2 separate regions of the Homo sapiens genome follow, and region 1 is linked to region 2. The links are contacts of gene promoters, found by promoter capture Hi-C in blood cells and fetal thymus (Javierre and others, 2016). All regions are on one chromosome and are shown on one strand. The core of a region is centred on a gene start or on the middle of the fragment in contact, and the rest is flanking DNA. Distances in the headings are between cores, read along the strand shown.

Region 1 (4,299 bases), core at 647-3,146, 2.8 Mb before region 2:
ATAACATTACTATTAACAACTGACATTTACTTAACGCTTAATACGTGGCAGACATTGTCCTAAACCTTTTAATCTCTGCAGTAATCCTAAGAGGCAGGTACTATTATTATTTTCAATGTATGGATGAAGAAACGTAGGAACAGAGAGGTTAAGCAACTTCCCCTAAGTCAAACTGTTAGTAAGGGGTAAAAGAGGTATTCAAAGCCCGGCTAAATCCAGAGGCTGCGCCTTTAACCACTAAGCCGGACACATCTGTGCCGGGTGGCTGGGGAGGACGAGGGGCGGATGGCCTGGATTTATCTTGCAAAAACGAAAAATTAAACTTCCCGCAAAGAAGCCAGGATGAATCCTAGAATAAAACCACGGCGCACTCTGAGATAAGCCCCCAAAGGCTGCAAGTGCCGGCCCCCAAAGCCACAGGGCTGCGCGGCTTGCCAAAATCCCTTTCCCAACTCCCTCCCTTCACCCACACTCTTCTGTCCAAAAGAGCCAACAGGTGAGGGCGAAGATGCCCAGCAATACTGGGGGCTTCGGTCTCCCACTCCGCGTCAGGGCCCGGCTGCTGGGGGTGGGGTGCGGCGAGGGAGTTCCCGGATCCGGGAAGCCTGAGCTGGGGCGCTCCGGAATTCGCGGTCACTAGGGGCGGGGACGTCGACCGCAGGCAAAAGAGCCCTTGGCTCTGGAGCCGCTCGCCCACTTGCACCTCTCTCACTCACACAGAGTCCTTACCACTCTCAAAAAAGCCCTAGGAGTTCCACCTCTTCAAACGCCGACTCCTCTCACAAATACCGCCATTCCTCGCCGGCGGCCGCCACAACCGATTCAAAAACTAAGCTGCTCTCTCTAAGAGCCATGCCGATTGGCGCGTGATGTCAACCTCTTTCCCATAGGCAGGAGTCTCCAGAGGGGCGGTGATTGGTCGACGCTCTCCAAGTCCCGGCAGGCGCCGCTTGATTGGTTGTGCGTGTGTTTCAAATAAGCCCAACGACTCGGGCGTCGGGACGCCAGGAGTTTGCAGAGAAGTGCCCGGATGTGGCCAGGAGGTGGCGGTGGTGGCTCCTGAGGTCTTAAAGGAGTAGCAGGTGTTTCTGTGACTACCGCATATTTACTCAGTAAACATCCTACTTCCTGAGGAAAGTTTGGGTGGATTCTCCTCGGCCCCACCCAGCTTTTTTTTTTTTTTAAACGATACCAAATCTTTTAAGCTTAAATCAGTGCCGCCAGAGATAAATGTTTCCCTGCTGCTTGCTGTGAGCTGTAGGATTTTCCTATCGGGATGCTTTCTGCTTTAGGAATGTATTTAAATTTGAGTTAAGGGATTTTGACTTTGATGGTTGTATTGGCGTGTGGCAGGGCCAAGGACCGGTCCTAGAACTCGGACTCCCCAGGTGGACTTCAAATCAGCAGCCGCTTATTTAAATGCTATTATTTAAAGCACTGCGCTCCCATCTAGGGAGTATCGCGGGTTAGAATCAATTCTTAGAAATTAGAAAAATTCTCGGATTTTTTTAAAGATAAGCTTGAATTTGATAAAAATATGCCACGAGATTCTAGAATTTTTGGAGCCAAATTGCTTCGTCTTTGCCCCCCTCCGCCCACTAAGAACTTGTACTTTCCCCTAAAGTCTAGTCAAGAATGTATCAAGTTTTTCCTGTGATTAGCGTTGCTATTATGAAAATAATTTCTTTATTTTCTAAATATGATACCATATAACACAATCTCTTAAGAAAAATACACCCCCACCAGGTGGGTTTTCCATAGTTCCCACCTGAAGGCTAATATAAATAGAAGAAGAAAGGGGAATCAGATGCCAGAACCTAAATACCAATAAGAAGAGGCAAACGTGTACTTTGGGATGGAACACTTGTGAGCATCTCAAGCAGGTTGTGGGGACTTAACAATTTTTTCTAATTTTGTCAGGCAATCTTAGAATGCCTGAAAAGTTTATAATGCTGTCCACAAAATGAATGAAGCAATCTGGTAATTATTGGTTTCCCTGCTTGTCAGTATTTAAGTCTGACCTTCATTAAAATGCTGTGATAACTGTTACGGCAGAAAAAAAGAAAAACAGTAATTGAAATTTCCATTTGGAATGTGCTTGCGTATTTGGAAGTCGGGTGTGCCCAGCATTCCAAAAACGTTCATCACTGAAAACATATTAAGCTATTGTGGGAAGCAGCCCTACTTCCTTTGTGCACCGCTTTCTGCTCAACAGACTTTCCAAAGCTAATGATTAACTGTGTATGGTATCATTGCCATGAATTTTAAGCTTCCCTAACAAAAGCTGTACTTGATTTCTTTTAAGGGATGTGTGGCAGTTAGATTAACAAATAAACGGGTAATACAACCTTTTTCACTCTCTTAGGTCTTCATTTACTCAGCAAATATTTACTAATTTTAAGACAGCCATTGTGCTTGTTGGGGTTATAAAGATGAATAAGGCATAGAAAACTGCCTGTCTGGACCACACAATCTGGTGAGGGAAATTAGCAGATAAACAGATAATTACAGTATAAGGGAGAGAAGAAAGAGAATGAACATACTGATACTTTACTATGCACTTTATACCTTATTTAATCCTTAAAACAACCCACAAGTAGGTATCATAGTCCCATGATACCATGAAACTGTAGGAAAGGTTTAAGTAACTTACCCAGTGTCTCCTAATAAATATTTTAGCCCGCATTAGAACCCAGAAATAATAGATGAGTGTAAATAAAGTCTAGTATAGATCTGTCTGCAGGCTCAAAGAAAGCAATGTGGAGAGGAGTATTTCAGATAATCGTGTGCATAGGTGATCATATGCCACTTAATTGCACCTAGCAGAGGGCTGGTGTCTGGTAAAGTAAAACATGATCCCTCATCTTCAGGTATTTTCAAAAAGCTAGTACTGCAAAGGCAAATGTTACACATTGCTCTCTAATAAACACAGGAATCTTCACATGTAGGTACCAAATAAATATTTCGAGAGTGAATGAGCTAGATCCAAGTTCATTCATAATGTTTGAGAGACTGGATGTCCTGATTAACCTAATCATAGTTTATTCATTTAATAACTATTAAGCACCCATTAGGTACTATGCTAGCACTGAGAATATAGGTGTGACAAGACAAATATGGGCCTTGTTCTCATGGCACTTCTAGCAGATAGCTGTATTTGCGGTGAAAAATTTATTGCATGCATAGGTTTTCACAGAATTCAAATACCTACAAAACAATGATACAAGTAACTTAGTCTTACTGAGTCAGAAGCTGTTTCAAGTGCTATAGTGTTTCAAGATCAGCATTATGAAAAATTTTTAAATACTATATACGGCATAGGCAATTGAACTGAATGGCATATTAACCTTGAACTTTTTTAAAAACATAAATTCTTAATATTAGCTTGTTTACGTGCACTTTAGGCTCTCATAAAAGCTCAATATATATAGGAGACAGTAAACAGTTTGGTGTGGCTGGATCATAATATACATGAAGAGGACAGTGGAAGACAACTGACATACGCTAGGTTAGGCTAGGTGTGGGGGCTCATGCCTATAATTCCAGCACTTTGGGAGACTAAGGCAGGAGGATCCCTTGAAGCCGGGAGTTCAAGACCAGCCTAGGTAGTGACTGCACTCCATCCTGGGCGATAGAGCAAGACCGCCCCTCCCCCCCACCATCCAGCCCCCATCTCAAAAAAAAATAAATGCTGGCCAGGTGCAGTGGCTCATGCCTGTAATCCCAGGCATGAGATTACATGCCTTTGGAAGGCCCAGGCGGGCGGATCACGAGGTCAGGAGATCGAGACCATCCTGGCTAACATGGTGAAATCCTGTCTCTACTAAAAATACAAAAAAATTAGCCGGGCGTGGTGGCACGCGCCTGTAGTCCCAGCTACTCGGGAGGCCGAGGCAGGAGAATGGCGTGAACCCGGGAGGCGGAGCTTGCAGTGAGCAGAGATTGCGCCACTGCACTCCAGCTTGGGCGACAGAGCGAGACTTCATCTCAAAAAATAAAAAATAAAAAGTAAAATAAATGCCATGTTAGAAGGAGCTTGGGAAGAGCTCCACTGTCATGACAGAGTTTAAACTTTATGCTGAAAGCACTGAAGATCAATTAAAAACCTTGAAGCAAGGAAATTATATGGTCTGTGTTATTTTTTAAAAGTAGCGATCAGGACCAGACACAGTGGCTGACATCTGTAATCCCAGCACTTTGGGAGCCCAAGACGGGCGGATCACCTGAGGTCAGGAGTTCGAGACCACCCTGGCCAATATGGTGAAACCCCGTCTCTAAGAAAACTACAAAAGTTAGCCG
Region 2 (4,751 bases), core at 440-2,939:
AAAATTAACTTGCTCAAAGTTACTCAGCCAATAATTGGTGGAGGTGGGGTACAAACAGGCAGTTTGGCTCAAGTTTTAGCTCTCTGCCACTGTCACATTACTCCACAGCCTCTGTTTAATATAAGATCACAACTAAATAAGAGCAGCTATTCAAAAGGTGAATTATATAGCCCTTACAACAATATTAAAGAGCAACTGGAATTGTAAAACAATGTGTATTGAAGGGCATAAAATTGTACTGTCAAGTGTAAATCTAAGGAGTTCTGTAAGTACAAATCTGACAGACAATTTCAATATACAATCTAATAAAATACTGTATACCCACGTCAGAGGAATAACACTAACTCTTGAAAGATTAAGAACAGTATAATTAGAAACTTCTACTGATCTTAAGACCTAGTCTTATCTGTCTGAACTCGAAATCTGCCTCTTTCTAATTCCCTTCTGCACCCTGTTCGGAACTACTTTATTTCTGCCAAATTCCAAAATTCCAAATTTACTGATCATGTGTGTCTTTTTCACAGCACTTAAAAAGTTTACAGAAGAATTTTAACTTGCATAGCTCAAAACATCTGTATTGTACGCCAATAAATCGATAAACTTAAAAAAAAAAAGAAGGGATAAAATGGAAGAAAGAAAAAATCATTCTAAGCAATGAAATAGTAAGGAACAGAAAGGCAATGATGAATGTAACAATTTATGATTATAGTAACAATTTACTACATGTGATCAATTTGAGGGCTTATGAAGGTTTCTCAGCACATCAGCTGATGAGACGACTAATAAATATCCTGAGTCCAAGATGTTCTACATAATTAATCCTCTTGGCAAAGAACAAGAACCAGGGAAAATCGCAAGGAAGAAATGCACAAATGACACGCATGTGGAATTAGGGGGAGATGTTATGTACGTTACTACGAGGATGACACACTGGCATGTGAAAGGTTTCTGGGCTCCACCAGCTCGTTGCAGCACCAACGAGGTTGTGGTTGTTTACACCACGTCGCCCGGAAAAAAGCCGGCAAGCTTCAAGTGGACTATTAAGTTAATAATATTGAAGGGAAAGAAGGGCAACGCAACTGAACATCTGGATGAGCAGATCCCTGCCTAGGCCCCGAGGCAGCTGACCAAGTCCAGATCATTCCCCCTTACGGTCTATGCGCACAAAGAACCAGCTGCTTTAGGTCAGTCCGCCGCCTCCTGCTACCCCTATTACCGTGGCCTTAATTTCAGGCCAGCTAAGGCCAGAGGATGGGGTGAAGGGAGGGGAGGAGCCCCGGGAAGGGTCAGCGTCTGCGCCCCAGGGGAGGCTGACCTTCCAGCTCAGGCCCGGGACAGCGCGACCACAGGAACTCCAGGCCCACAGCCGCGCCTCCGCAGCCGGATTCTGAGCGCGGCGCCTCCTTCCTTCCCCTGCTGCTCCACCACCACCTCCGTCTCTGTCTCCGCCGTCGCCAACACCGCCCCCCCTCAGGCCCCTCACAACGCGCAGCCTGCAGCCAGCTGCCTCGCGGCGGAACCCCACCCCACCCCACCCCACCTCGCCCTTGCTTTCGCTCGCCCTTTTAGGGGGCTTTCCCCGCCCCTTCCACTATCCAGCGCGCCGAAGCCCCCTGCCCAGAGCTCGGCTTTGCTACCTGGATCCGCTTCTTGTGTCTCCTGCGTTCCGCCATGTTGGCCGCTCCGCCCGGTTCCCTCTGACGTGGAGCGAGGAGGGGGCGGTGGAAACCTCGCGAGAACGCGCCCCGAGGCCCGTTATGTAATCCGCCGGCTGGCGCCCCTGGAATGGGGAGGTCGGCCGCCTGGCGGGGCCAGCGGTCCTTAGCGGTGCCTTCTCTCCCCTCTTCCCTCCGCTCCTGCTGTGCGGGAACTGGAGAATCGTTAGGACGTGGAGGAAGCAGAGAAGTGGATCAGAGAACAGGAGGGCTGGGAAGAGTCCTGGTTTCTCAATCCTGACTGAGCATCTGAATCACCTGAGAAGCTACTAAAATGCAGATTCCCCGACCCCATCCCCTTAGAGTCAGAGTCTGTGCATTTAGGGTGCGGCCTTTCTCAGAGGGATCGACTGAGACCTACTGAACCCTAGAAGTCTTTACCTGAGGCAGTTCCTGCAATGTACTGTATATTTCATGACATTCCATGTAAAAGATGACAAGACCGAGACCGTTGAGTGACAGAGATAAGAACTGACTTATCTAAGGCTCCACAGGTGGTAGATGGCAGAGCCGAGACCTGAGCCAATTATCTTTTCTCCTGCACTGTGCGGGGTAATACAGCTCGTTTAAAACAAGCTGGAGTCTCCATTCCGTTTTCCGCGTTGCTTCTCACAACTCACTGTTAGAATCCAGAAGTAAGAGAACCCGGGGAAGCGTAAGGAAGATGAATAGGACAAAGATTCTAAGAAGGTGGGAAGGAAGAAGGCTGCAGTCTATTTCAAGTCTGGTGAATTTCAATCACTGTAGCCTTTATTGTTATTTTAGAGCCACCTAGACCAAAAGAGAAGGAGCTCAAATTGCTGGTAAGTGCTTAGATAGAAATTCCCTTGACTGACTTTATAGAGATCTTTAAAGCGTTTTTAATTGTAGAAAATTGGGAAAATTCAGAATAGAAAGATGTTCTTTTTTTTTTGATGCTGAGTTTCGCTCTATATTGCCCAAGCTGGAGTGCAGTGGCGCAGTCTCGGCTCACTGCATCACCGAACTCCTCGTCTCAACTGATCTCCCTCCTCAGCCTCCTGAGTAGCTGGAACTACAGGCATGAGCCACCACACCTGGCTAATTTTTACTTTTTTTGTGTGGAGATGGAGTTTCCTTATGTTGCCCGGGCGGGTCTTGAACTCCTGGGCTCAAAACGATCCACCTGTCTCTGTCTCCTGAGTAACTGGAACTACAGGCGTGAGCCACTGTGACCGTTCAGTTTATTTTCTTATAGTATTCTGACTTTGTGTGTGTGTGTGCATGTGTGTTTGTATTTATATTTTTTCCTGTTTCCCAAATTGAGATCATATGCAATAAGGCAGCTGCTTTTTTCACTTAATGTTAGGTTGTAAGCGTTTATTATACCATTAAAATTTTTTTCCAGGTTTCCCATATTATATATCTAACCTAAGAGCAATTAAATATGTAAGTAAGGCAAATTGCAGCATCTTGATGCCTAATTTTTTAATAAAGTAAGATTGCTGAATTTTTTTTTTTTTTTTGGACTATGCAGTTCTGGTCTCAGGAGTCATTTAATTCCTTTCTCCTCTATAATCTATAATTTGGGTGTGTGTATAGTCAGGGATGGGGTGAGAAAGAAGTAATTATTCTTGCCAATTAACCCAAAACATAATATAGAATATGAAATGTCTTTATTTCCTTCAATCCCTCTACCCACCCAGAATGATGAATCTGTTTTGTGCTGTTTTATGTGGACATAAACACTGGACTATTTTATAGGAGACCTGGTCTATAAATGAAAATATTATTGCATTCAGTAGGTATTGAGTGCCTACTAGATAGATGTCAAATGTTAGGTTAGGACTATGGTGGGGAATAAAAATCCTTTATAGACAATGACTCATCCTCAAGTTACTGCCTTACTATTTTCTTCATCAGCAGAGCTTTAATTTAGTGTCCTCTTGTTCTGTCATTCACTCCTTAGATTACAACAATTTGGTTTCTACCTCCACCATCCAGTAACAATTATTTTGTCAAACCCAATACCTTCTCTCAGCTGGCATCTTACTCAGTATTTGACAATATTGACTGTTCTTCTTGACTTCTTTTCCTTCTTTGGCATGTATATCAACTTCTTTCTGATTTCTCGTTGACTTCTCTCCTTTTACCCAATTCTCACATGTTCCTGGCCACCGTTTTTATATGTTCACCTTCCTCTTGTCTCTTCTATTTGTGCATTCTGTTTACAGATTAATTCCAAAATACTGCATTCATGTTTAATTCCAGATTTCTTCTGGATGTTTCCACTGGATGTCCAACTAAAAATCACCATTTCCCCAGCAAAACCTGCCCCTTTTACTGTAAAAATCTAATAACTACATCGTTGTTCACTCAATTACTCATGCTAGAAACCTTGGATGCATCCCAACCATGCCTTTCTGCCAGTCAGTCACCAATCCTGTTGATTCTACAGCTGAGATATTTGGAATTCTTCCCTCCCTTATCATTCCCATTACCATTGCCTTGTTCAAGTCCTTATCATCACCTACGTGAACTAGTATTGCAATGGCCTTTTAATTGTTCTCCTCACTTCTATGCTCTTTACACTCCAGACCTTCTTCCTTCCATGACTCCCTGTTGTGTGTAGCAGCATGAATGATGGCTAATGTTCACACATATAACCTCAGATTTATGGGTCAAATTTCTGGGTCTCCTTTCCATTTAATATTTATATAAAAATATTTATATAAAAATAGCTCAAATCCTTTTCCCAGCACACCATCTATATTATTGATGGTGGCAGTAAGGAGTTTCCCCTAGCCACTTCTAGTTCCAACTTACTTTTGAATTTCCAATTTTACTCTTATTATTTGACAGTTATTTCTCTCCCAAACGAGGAGTATTTTTTGTTATTGTTGTTGTTGTTGAAGACAGGGTCTTGCTCTGTCGCCTAGGTAGGAGTGCAGTGGTGCGATCTCGGCTCACTGCAACCTCCGCCTCCTGGGCTCAAGGGATTCTCCCACCTCAGCCTCCTGAATAGCTGGGACCACAGGTCGTGCCACCACACCCAACTAAATTTTTTAATTTTTTGTA

Evidence for each region. Contacts are between HindIII fragments. The CHiCAGO score rates a contact against its expected background, and 5 or more counts as called.
Region 1: a fragment that was not itself captured here is called in contact with the fragment with the promoter of SEC62 in region 2 in 3 of 17 cell types (fetal thymus, naive CD8 T cells and total CD8 T cells); the score reaches 14.2 in fetal thymus.

What each region holds. Positions count from the first base shown.
Region 1 is chr3:172,747,288-172,751,586 of GRCh38, reverse strand. ECT2 (epithelial cell transforming 2) reads right to left here and starts at 861. Exons shown (of 25, transcript NM_001258315.2): 1 at 730-861. RefSeq lists a silencer at 446-515 and enhancers at 626-885, 906-955, 1,056-1,325. The HindIII fragment of the contact is 750 bases long and covers 1,522-2,271 here.
Region 2 is chr3:169,963,745-169,968,495 of GRCh38, reverse strand. It overlaps SEC62 (SEC62 preprotein translocation factor), which reads right to left and starts at 1,689. Exons shown (of 8, transcript NM_003262.4): 1 at 1,638-1,689. The coding sequence starts at 1,673. It also overlaps the pseudogene FHL1P1. RefSeq lists enhancers at 1-14, 1,571-2,010. The HindIII fragment of the contact is 8,040 bases long and covers 1,029-4,751 here.